Regions from separate parts of the Homo sapiens genome. Here region 2 is linked to region 1. Evidence: promoter capture Hi-C in 16 types of primary human blood cells and fetal thymus (Javierre and others, 2016). All regions are on one chromosome and are shown on one strand. The core of a region is centred on a gene start or on the middle of the fragment in contact, and the rest is flanking DNA. Distances in the headings are between cores, read along the strand shown.

What was found. The method cuts DNA at HindIII sites, captures the fragments that hold promoters and counts their contacts. A CHiCAGO score of 5 or more calls a contact.
Region 2: a fragment that was not itself captured here is called in contact with the fragment with the promoter of HLX in region 1 in 1 of 17 cell types (endothelial precursors); the score reaches 10.6 in endothelial precursors.

The regions. Positions count from the first base shown.
Region 1 is chr1:220,876,755-220,881,318 of GRCh38, forward strand. It overlaps HLX (H2.0 like homeobox), which reads left to right and starts at 2,689. Exons shown (of 4, transcript NM_021958.4): 1 at 2,689-3,695; 2 at 4,440-4,564. The coding sequence starts at 3,104. It overlaps HLX-AS1 (HLX antisense RNA 1), which reads right to left and starts at 3,386. Exons shown (of 3, transcript NR_046901.1): 1 at 3,095-3,386. RefSeq lists a silencer at 2,246-2,295 and an enhancer at 3,414-4,022. The HindIII fragment of the contact is 7,579 bases long and covers 1,247-4,564 here.
Region 2 is chr1:221,389,900-221,394,790 of GRCh38, forward strand. All of the region lies in intron 3 of LOC105372932 (a long non-coding RNA gene), which reads left to right. Among named protein-coding and RNA genes, the nearest start is that of LINC02817, 56 kb to the left of the region's middle. The HindIII fragment of the contact is 535 bases long and covers 3,341-3,875 here.

The DNA.
Region 1 (4,564 bases), core at 1,439-3,938:
GTCACCCGAGCAACTTGCCGGTGGAGATAAAGTTGCACAAATATTGAAAGGGGAAGTGCTAGGAGTCATTATAGAGTTTTTCTCCGGAAGAAATAAGGATTTCTGCAGTATCCTAAAATACTAAGGCCGCTTCTATTTTGAGACCAATCTCGCAGGCACATCCGCTCATTTAGTCCCGAGTTTGAGCCCATCAAAAAACAGGAGATGACCTGAACTCCGGCGAGCCCAGGGTTTCCTGCTGCTTTCTTGGTTCTGAAGAGTGGGGAGTAAGGAGGGCGGGAGTCTGCGGGCTCAGAACTCGGCGAGGGGCCTGCAGGGGCCAGGCTTGGGCCTGGGGAAGGGGTAGAGGGGGCGGCGGGGGTCGCTCCAAAGACTTGTATTTCGCGTTTGCCTCCGGGAGCTGGGAGTAAGGCCTTGGATGGCGCCGACGCGGTTGCGAGGAAGCTGAGGCCTGGGAGAGCAAGGGGCGCGCAGGCGAAGTTGCAACTTGCACTCCAGCCGCGGGCCTGGCGGAGAAAGGGAGGCTCGCGGCGCCGCGAGGAGTCGGCGGGCCTCGGGGCCTCGCTTTCGCCGCATCTGCCCAGCGCTCCGGGCCTTGAATCTCGGCAGATGCGAGTTGTGGGCACCTAGGGAACCCTGAGGACTCGCATTCCCCCGGGTCTGTATCCCGTGCCCACCCCGGAGCGTCGCAAACCTTGGAAAGGGTGAAAGCTGATAGGGGAGTCTTATTTCTTAAGAGAGAGGGTGAGGGCGCGCGGCGCTGCCTCGGGTAAGGAGTAAATGCACCTCTTTCACAACCGTGAGTTTGGGCTTAGGCTGAGGTCTAAATGTTTGCAGTCAAATTAGAAACGCAATCAAACTGGAAGTGGCACTAGAAAGCAGAGGGCTCACGGCCTCCGCTACGCACACTCCCACCGAAGGCTCACCAGAACCCTCAGCCAGCGCCTCAATTGCCCATGTTGTACTTGTCGCTCCTTTGCCTTCACCTTGACACAGAAAAACTGGTCTTAATACGTCTCTCGCCCCAGGTACCCCTACCTTCAGCCAAACACACCCATCTATCTCTGGAAATAGCACCTCTCTCCTGGTTGCGTGGAGCAGGGGAAGAAAACCTTTCAGTAAAAGAGAGATGGAGAGCGAGAGCGGGAGAGCTGGAGGGCGGGAGGAGGGAGAGAGAGAGGGAGAGGGAGAGATCTTAGTGCTGGCTGATCAGAAGTGATTGATAATTTTCCAGGAGAAAGTCAAAAGCTTAAAAGGATAGCATCTGCATCAAGGGGCTAGAGAAAACACCAGAAATTAATTTTATAAGCCCAAACCCTGAACTCGAGATAGGCATGGCAAGTTCACTTGCTTTTCTGGGTTTATTTGGTGAGGAGCCTTCGTGCTGAAGGGAAATAAAAATGTCACAGAATCCCTGTTAGGAGATGCTTATTAGGGCAATCGAAAACAAAAGTTTTCGTGGTTTCATTATTCGTATTATTTTATTTTCTTCCTGAAAATGTGCAAGAACAGCTCATCTGGGTGGCCTGTGGTTTGTTTGGGAGAGGGGTGGGGAAATTCATTCTGACTATAATTTAAAGAGAAGAAATTCTTAAAATAGATATGTCGATGTTGCACAAAACCTCCACCACCACTACCCTGCGTTCTAAAGACCCAAGGCACGAATGGAAGACGTTGACCACCACGCAGCTCCTCCTGCAACCAGGCCCAAGGGGTTCCTGGGGAAGCTGTCACAGAATTGAAAGCAGTATTGAACCCCACGGAAATCTGCTCTTGTGGGCACTTGCAAAACAACGAACCCCACGTGATCCGGAGATGTGGTGGAGGGGTGAGGCTAACATTTCCTACAACCTCCTGCAAAGGATGGAAGCGCGTGCCGCTCTCCCGGGTTTCGGGAGGCAGCCTGTTTTGTAGCCTCTGAGGCTCCGGGGAAAGGTTTGGCTGCGTCTAAGAGAGACGTTTGGAGCCATCCGTCTTATTTTGTTTGAAAAGTCACTCGTTCAATTTGTCACTGTGTGACAGCTCAGAATAAAACCAATTTGCGGCCGCCCCTCCTCCTCGCTTCCCGGAGGATCTCCTGGGAGGCACGAGGCGGACGCGGTGCTGAGTTGGGCCGGGACTCAGGGCGGCAACATTTGGGCAAGGGCCCAGGAAAGATGAGGGGCTTTGCCGAGGACACGGACTCCTGGAATAAAAGCAGAATGAGGTCAAGAGAAGGGAAGCAAAGGGGCCAAAGCGCGCTCCGCTCTCCACCGGGAGGCGGGCTTTGCAGAGCCCTAAAGAGTGAGATTACCGTCCCTTCCCCACGCCCCCAACTCGCCCCGGGTGACAAGCGCTTCAGGAAAGCTCCTGTGATCAACCCTCCTTGCCCCGTGGCGGTTCGGAGCTGCAGAAGTTAGAAGAGAGTCAGAGCCCTCCGGAGCGGCTGCCTGGCCCCTACGCAGAGTAGCAAGAAGCACTGCGATGTGCGCTACTAAGCCCACGCGGCCGCAGCAAAAACTTTGGCGTGGCCGGGGCGTGGCTAGGGTCCGGCCAGGCCCCCTTGTTCCTAATTCCCCTCCACTCCCCGCTCCCATTGGTCACGAGGATGACCAATGAGCGCTCGGATCGAGGTCCTACCCCGGGCCTGACTCGAAAGCTCCTGCCAAAACTTTGGGAGTTTTTAGAGACGAGTTTTTTTTTTTTTCTATTACTTTTCCCCCCCCCTAACTAACGGACTATTATTGTTGTTGTTTTAAATTTAGCTCTTAGGGCTTAGCTATTTGGGTTTTCTTGCGGTGTCCGGCTCCCGTCTCCCTGGCTCCCCCGCCCGCCCTGCGGCCCCAGCGCCCCTCGCTCTCATCCAGCCCGCGAGGAGTGCGGGCGCCGCGCCGCCTTTAAAGCGAGGCCAGGGAGCGAGGCGGTGACCGGCCGAGATCCGGCCCTCGCCTCCTCCCTCGGTGGCGCTAGGGCTCCCGGCCTCTCTTCCTCAGTGCGGGCGGAGAAGCGAAAGCGGATCGTCCTCGGCTGCCGCCGCCTTCTCCGGGACTCGCGCGCCCCTCCCCGCGCGCCCACCCACCCAGTCCGGCTGGACTGCGGCAGCCGCGCGGCTCACCCCGGCAGGATGTTCGCAGCCGGGCTGGCTCCCTTCTACGCCTCCAACTTCAGCCTCTGGTCGGCCGCTTACTGCTCCTCGGCCGGCCCAGGCGGCTGCTCCTTCCCCTTGGACCCCGCCGCCGTCAAAAAGCCCTCCTTCTGCATCGCAGACATTCTGCACGCCGGCGTGGGGGATCTGGGGGCGGCCCCGGAGGGCCTGGCAGGGGCCTCGGCCGCCGCCCTCACCGCGCACTTGGGCTCGGTTCACCCGCACGCCTCTTTCCAAGCGGCGGCCAGATCCCCGCTTCGACCCACCCCAGTGGTGGCGCCCTCCGAAGTCCCGGCTGGCTTCCCGCAGCGGCTGTCTCCGCTCTCAGCCGCCTACCACCACCATCACCCGCAACAACAACAGCAGCAGCAACAGCCGCAGCAGCAACAGCCTCCGCCTCCGCCCCGGGCTGGCGCCCTGCAGCCCCCGGCCTCGGGGACGCGAGTGGTTCCGAACCCCCACCACAGTGGCTCTGCCCCGGCCCCCTCCAGCAAAGACCTCAAATTTGGAATTGACCGCATTTTATCTGCAGAATTTGACCCAAAAGTCAAAGAAGGCAACACGCTGAGAGGTAGGTCTTGGGCGGGAGGCTGCAGGCCTCTGACCACTGACCCACTCCCCGGACCCCGGGCTGGCTTGGGGTGCCTTTGAGTGTTTTTACAATTAAGGACAAATCGGTAAAACGGGAGAGAAGAAAACGAATTGTAAGAAAACTACAAAACATTAGGTCTAAAACTCACCTGTTCTATGTAAAACAAACAAAAAATGACTCCAGGGATTCTTTAAAAACACGTCTTAGAATCAATATTTATAAAAGTGGTTGGTGTAATTATCTGCTAACATGACTTTGATCTCTTTAATAATGTATCTAGAGACAGAATTATATTTTCTGACAGCTAAAGCATTTTTGGGAAACACTTTCGCACTTATCTGATTTCTAGTAAAAATTTCACCCAGGAAATGTAAATAATAAACAAAACCGCCTAGATGAGCGGGCAGAGTGGGGCCACCTTGGGGCGGAGGTTTTGCGTCTGTGGCGTTCTTGGAAGACACGTGAAAGTGAGGCCGTAAGCCGATTTATGTAAAGCCTTTACTTACTATATACATGCATATGGACGTGAGGGACACACAGGAACTTTTCGTGCGTCGCTCCTTGGCAACTGTTGGGAGAGAGAGGTTTCAGCGCCTAGACGGGTTCTCTCTTGACTTCGCTCAATAAAAGTGAATCCAGGGCAAGGGGAAGGGGAGGAACAAATCAGCGGAGAGTGTGAGTGTGCCCGAGATGTAACCTGCTATCCTTTTCCCTTGTCCCCAGATCTCACTTCCCTGCTAACCGGTGGGCGGCCCGCCGGGGTGCACCTCTCAGGCCTGCAGCCCTCGGCCGGCCAGTTCTTCGCATCTCTAGATCCCATTAACGAGGCTTCTGCAATCCTGAGTCCC
Region 2 (4,891 bases), core at 2,358-4,857, 510 kb after region 1:
ACTTGCAGGAGGGAAGGGGTTTCCGTGTTTATAAATTTTGGAGTTCCCTTGGGGATACAATTGCCACGGAAGTCACCACCACTTGACAATAGAAGAACCAAGAGCTATATCTCATTGTTATACCTGTTATACCTCATTGAGTTTCAGTTGAAATGTACCCCTTCCCAGACCATCCTTCTTTACCTGGTGGGTTCTAAGTACAGGCTCTAGAGTCAGACTGCCTGTTGTTAGATCCTGGTCTCCACATTTAGCAGTTGTGGACCATGGGAAAGTTTCTTTACATCCCTGAGCTTTAGTTTCCTCACCTATAAAGTGGGGATAATAATTGCCCCTATTTTATGGGATTCTAAAGATTAAATGAGATAATTCACACAAAGTGCTGAAGAAATGCACATAGAAAACATTCATTAGATTAAGTTGTTATTAGATGTGATATATTAGCAGTTTTAAAAATTAATTATAAATTTTTAAAATGATTTATTTTGAGTTTACTTGTTTATTATGTTTCCCTTATTCATATATGATCTCCATAAAGGCGGGGGCTTTGTTTCTCTTATTAATAAGTAAAACAGAGCCCAGTGCATGGTGAGTGCTCCAGAAAAAATTATTTAATAACAGAATGATCACATGTGCATCTGATAAGGATCAATACTCTTCCCTGACTATAAGGATTTGATTGAGTCTACACTATCTGATGTGGATCCATTAGGAAGATACTAGTGGTAGGGGGTCTCTTAGCAGAGGGGAGTGCAACGGTGAGAGTATGATGAGGGTAGATACAAGGAAGGGTAGTTGTTCACCACAGTAGTGGACATGTAGCTGAATCCAGAGCTGATGTGAGAGGCCAGGGCTTCAAAGGGCCAAGGAGATAAAAGAAGGGAATGTGGCTCCAGTGCAGAAGACAGGGAGGGGTCTGAGAGTGTTGTGAGGACAGGCTGTGTGCATGAGAAACCATCTGTATAGGACCCCCAGCAAGGTCACAAAGAGGACAGTTCTATCTCAAGGACTGAGTTCTTTCCTGGAAGCATAGCTAGGACTTTTGTTATAGAAGCAAGTCAAGGAAGAGAAAAATTTTAAAGAGTAGATAAAGGAAATGGCCCTAGAAAAGTGACTCCCAGGCCCACATCAAATACTACTTCCATTAAAAACCTTCCTTGATTAATCCAGCGCAGCCACTTACATGGCATTTAGCTTTCACTGTCTTCTATTTTGAATAATTTGTGTTCAGTACTTATTTGGACTACTGAATTATACACTGAAGTTTTCTCCAACAGGATGGTTTTGCCCAATTTTGTGACATCAATGGGGAAAAAAAAGCTAGACTGATTAAATCATGCCTCAAATGCCTTTTTGAATGATTAGAAGTTGATATACCTTTGACTCCTTCTGGGCCTCAAACTGTAATTTCCTTAAACAGTTCACAATTCCAACTCTCTCTCTTTCTATCTTTTTCTTCCTGTCTCACATCACTGCCAAAATTTGTCCTAAATGTTTAAGCTATGCTTGTTGTATTAGTTTTGGATTTGTAGGGGCCAAGGAAGAACGTTCGCCTTCGTCCTCTGAAGGTTCGCTGAAAAGTCAACTTGCAAAAGGCAGAGGAATCAGAGTAAAGGCATACAGATTAAGGTGTATATATGGGAGCCTTTAGATGAAGACCCAAAGATACAGAGGAAATTGTCCATTTTTATGCTTAGGTTCAACAAAATTCCGCAGACAGCTATGTAGAAATATGAATGGAAAAAAAGGGTATGATGTAATGCTAATAGATGGACTGAGGAAACCCAGCAAGGCCTGTCTAGATTCTGCTTGGCCTCTCTGAGCATGCATTCCTTCCTTCTGGATATAGGGCAGAAGCCTCTCTGGAATGAGGATCTTATGACCTACAGTCAAAAATGTTAGCCCAGGTAATTTCTTTATGGTCAATTTTTACGCAGAAAGATAGAGGGAAAGTTAGAGCAATATTTTTAGGTTTTATGGCTGGCTTTGTGGAAAAGAGGTTCTGGTTTCTATGACCTGCCTTAGAGAAGAGGGCTTCTAGTTTCTAAAGAATTCTCTAGTTTCTACAGATTCTCACCTTGGGAGAGAATGGGACTGAGAGTTAGGGGGGCAGGAGAAGGTCAGAGAAAAACTTTTGCTTCTGAGGCTTTCATTTTGGGGTATTATTTTTGGAGCCCCAGCAACTTCCTTCATATATTTATGCAGATTGCTGTTGTCTAAAATGGTAAACTTTTAGAAGATGGGCACTGTCTTTATTGGTGTATTAGCATCTCTGCACTTTGAGTTAGAACAGTGATACTAAGCCCTAATTTTTCATTCTCCAGGTGATATTTTTTAGTGACATCCACTTTTTCTTCTTTGATAGTTCTAACTCCTTGACTAATTCTCAAAATAAATTCTTTTCAATTAACCATAATTTACAAATACTATGTGCAGAGAGTATTTCTAAGGTTATTTGGAAGCAGCAATATAAACATTTGTCATAACTCCTCCCAAATTGGAAATGGATCTATGAGAGGATAACAGCTAATAGTGTTACTATTCATATGTATAAAAGTGACTTAATTGATGAGGGTGAGGAGCAGGGCAGGTTAAATCTTTCCTTTTATGAATACTGTTGTTTCCTGATATGCCTAGTTTCAAGAAGTTGGGCAAGCTAGAAGTTGGATTATGACTTCATCACCTATGACTCACATGGAATGCACAATTTTGATCCAAAACTTTTGTTCTAATAAGATTTCAACTTCCAAACATTGGTAGCAATGAGAGCCAAGAGCAGGAATGTGACAGTGTGCCAGGTTGATCACAGTGTTTAGGGTTTTGTTTTTTTTTTTTTTGTGAAATGAAGTCTCACTCCATTGCCCAGGCTGGAGTGGAGTTGTGCAATCTCGTCTCACTGCAACCTCCACCTCCTGGGTTCAAGAGATTCTCCTGCCTCAGCCTCTTGAGTAGCTGGGACTACAGGCACGTGCCACCACACCCAGCTAATTTTTTGTATTTTTAGTAGAGAAGGAGTTTCACTGTGTTAGCCAGGATGGTCTCAATCTCCTGACCTCGTGATCCATCCGCCTCGGCCTTCCAAAATGTTGGGATTACAGGCATGAGCCACTGCACCTGGCCTATGCTTTCTTTTTAACAAAAGTTGTTTTCAACAAAATTTGACTTTGCTCAAGAATGGCACTAGTTTTTAGAAAAATTTTGGAGTGGTGAAGTCAAGGAATTTTCAACTGAAGTAGATCATGTGCTCATTGACAGCAGCAAAATGGCATCCGTGGGGGATCCTAACATAGAGGCACCATTTCTCCACTCAGGGAAAGGATTAGGCATAGAAATGCAAACATCAAGCTTTGCTTGGTACACTATTATTTCCTTGCTGAACTCCAGATGATAAGGTAACCAACTGGCCCTGAAATCGTAAGTGGGTGAATTCAACTATCAGATGCTTTACTGTGATAAAAGTGTCAATAATATCTCAGACTTAGGCAGTGCTTTGTAGTCTACAGAGAACTTTCATCTACTTTCTCTCACTGGATCTTATCACTTGATTCCTTATGATAGGCAAAGTTAATATGCATATTATCAAGTCCAGGTCTAGCTCAGTCCTTGCTGCATACATTATTCGTGCTTAACTACTTATAGAATTGAAGTTGTTGAATCTACGGTTTCAGATAAGAAAAGAATGTTTAATGATTTCTGCAAACTCAGCCATACCAGGTGAAACTGCTAAGACTTAAAGCCATCTTTTATGCCTTGTGTCCTCTGATGTTGCCATTGGCGCTTGTAAGAACACTTCTTTTCCCCAAGTCACTGTTGATACCAAAGAAAGCTATTATCCCCACATCTATCCCTGGTGCCACTGAGCGGTAAGGATTTGAACAAGCTTGAGAATAGTGTTTAAAGTAATTAGTTCCATATTAAAAAGAAAAAGAAGAGAGAGTAGGAAGGAGCAGTAAGCAGAAAGATGATTAAGGCTTTGGGTGTGGATCAGAATGGTATTTAAAATAAATACAACAAAAGTTATCCAATAATCAGTAAACAGTAATATAATTAGAATTTTTTTTTCCTATTTACTTCCTTTAACATGCAATGGGGGGAAATGGTAACAAAAAAAAAAGTCAAGGACTCAATCAAACAGATGGTTCTCAAGTTATTATTTTCTCCTTACTGTTGTTTACAAGAAAAAACTCCTTTAACAAACCGTGACTCACAGATTCCAGTGGGACCAGAAATTCTCTATGTGAAGGAGAGGAAAATAGTGGGAAGAGAACCCGCATCATAAACTTTTATTATGCACATTATTATGCCTCATTAATTAACCCAACCACTGTCCTAGTGACGTCTTGGGCTCACTTCACAGGAAAAAATTAGTCTGGATTGCCAAGTTAAATAGACAATTACAGGAAGATCAAATTATGCCTACATTGCATTCTGTCAGGGCATCAAGCCAAATTCATGTCAAACTCATAAGACTGGAATATCCTTAAAAAAACAGCCCTGAAGAACCAATGTCACAAGCCATTTGACGTCCACACGGAGGATGTATTGATCTTGCCTGAGCTTCCTTTCTCAGAATCGCATAACAGACCAAGAAAGAGGGCTTTCTGAGCATCTTACTCTCTTCCACACAGCAGCTGGCTAGATCCTTTGTTATGTACAATAAAGCACAATGAAACAGGGAAAAACATCCCACCTCATGAGCTCCATCCCTCATCCTGGCTGGCAGCTGTCACAGATCTGAAGAAACAGCTTAGACATTTAAAGAGAACAATGAAAATCCCCAGTGTAGGTTTTCCACAGTGGAACCCTTGGTTCTGTCCATGATCTTGAGGAACACTTTTCCAAAAAATCTGAGCTGAGGCCAAAATGAATAAAGCTCACCCCAGATTTTCAGAAC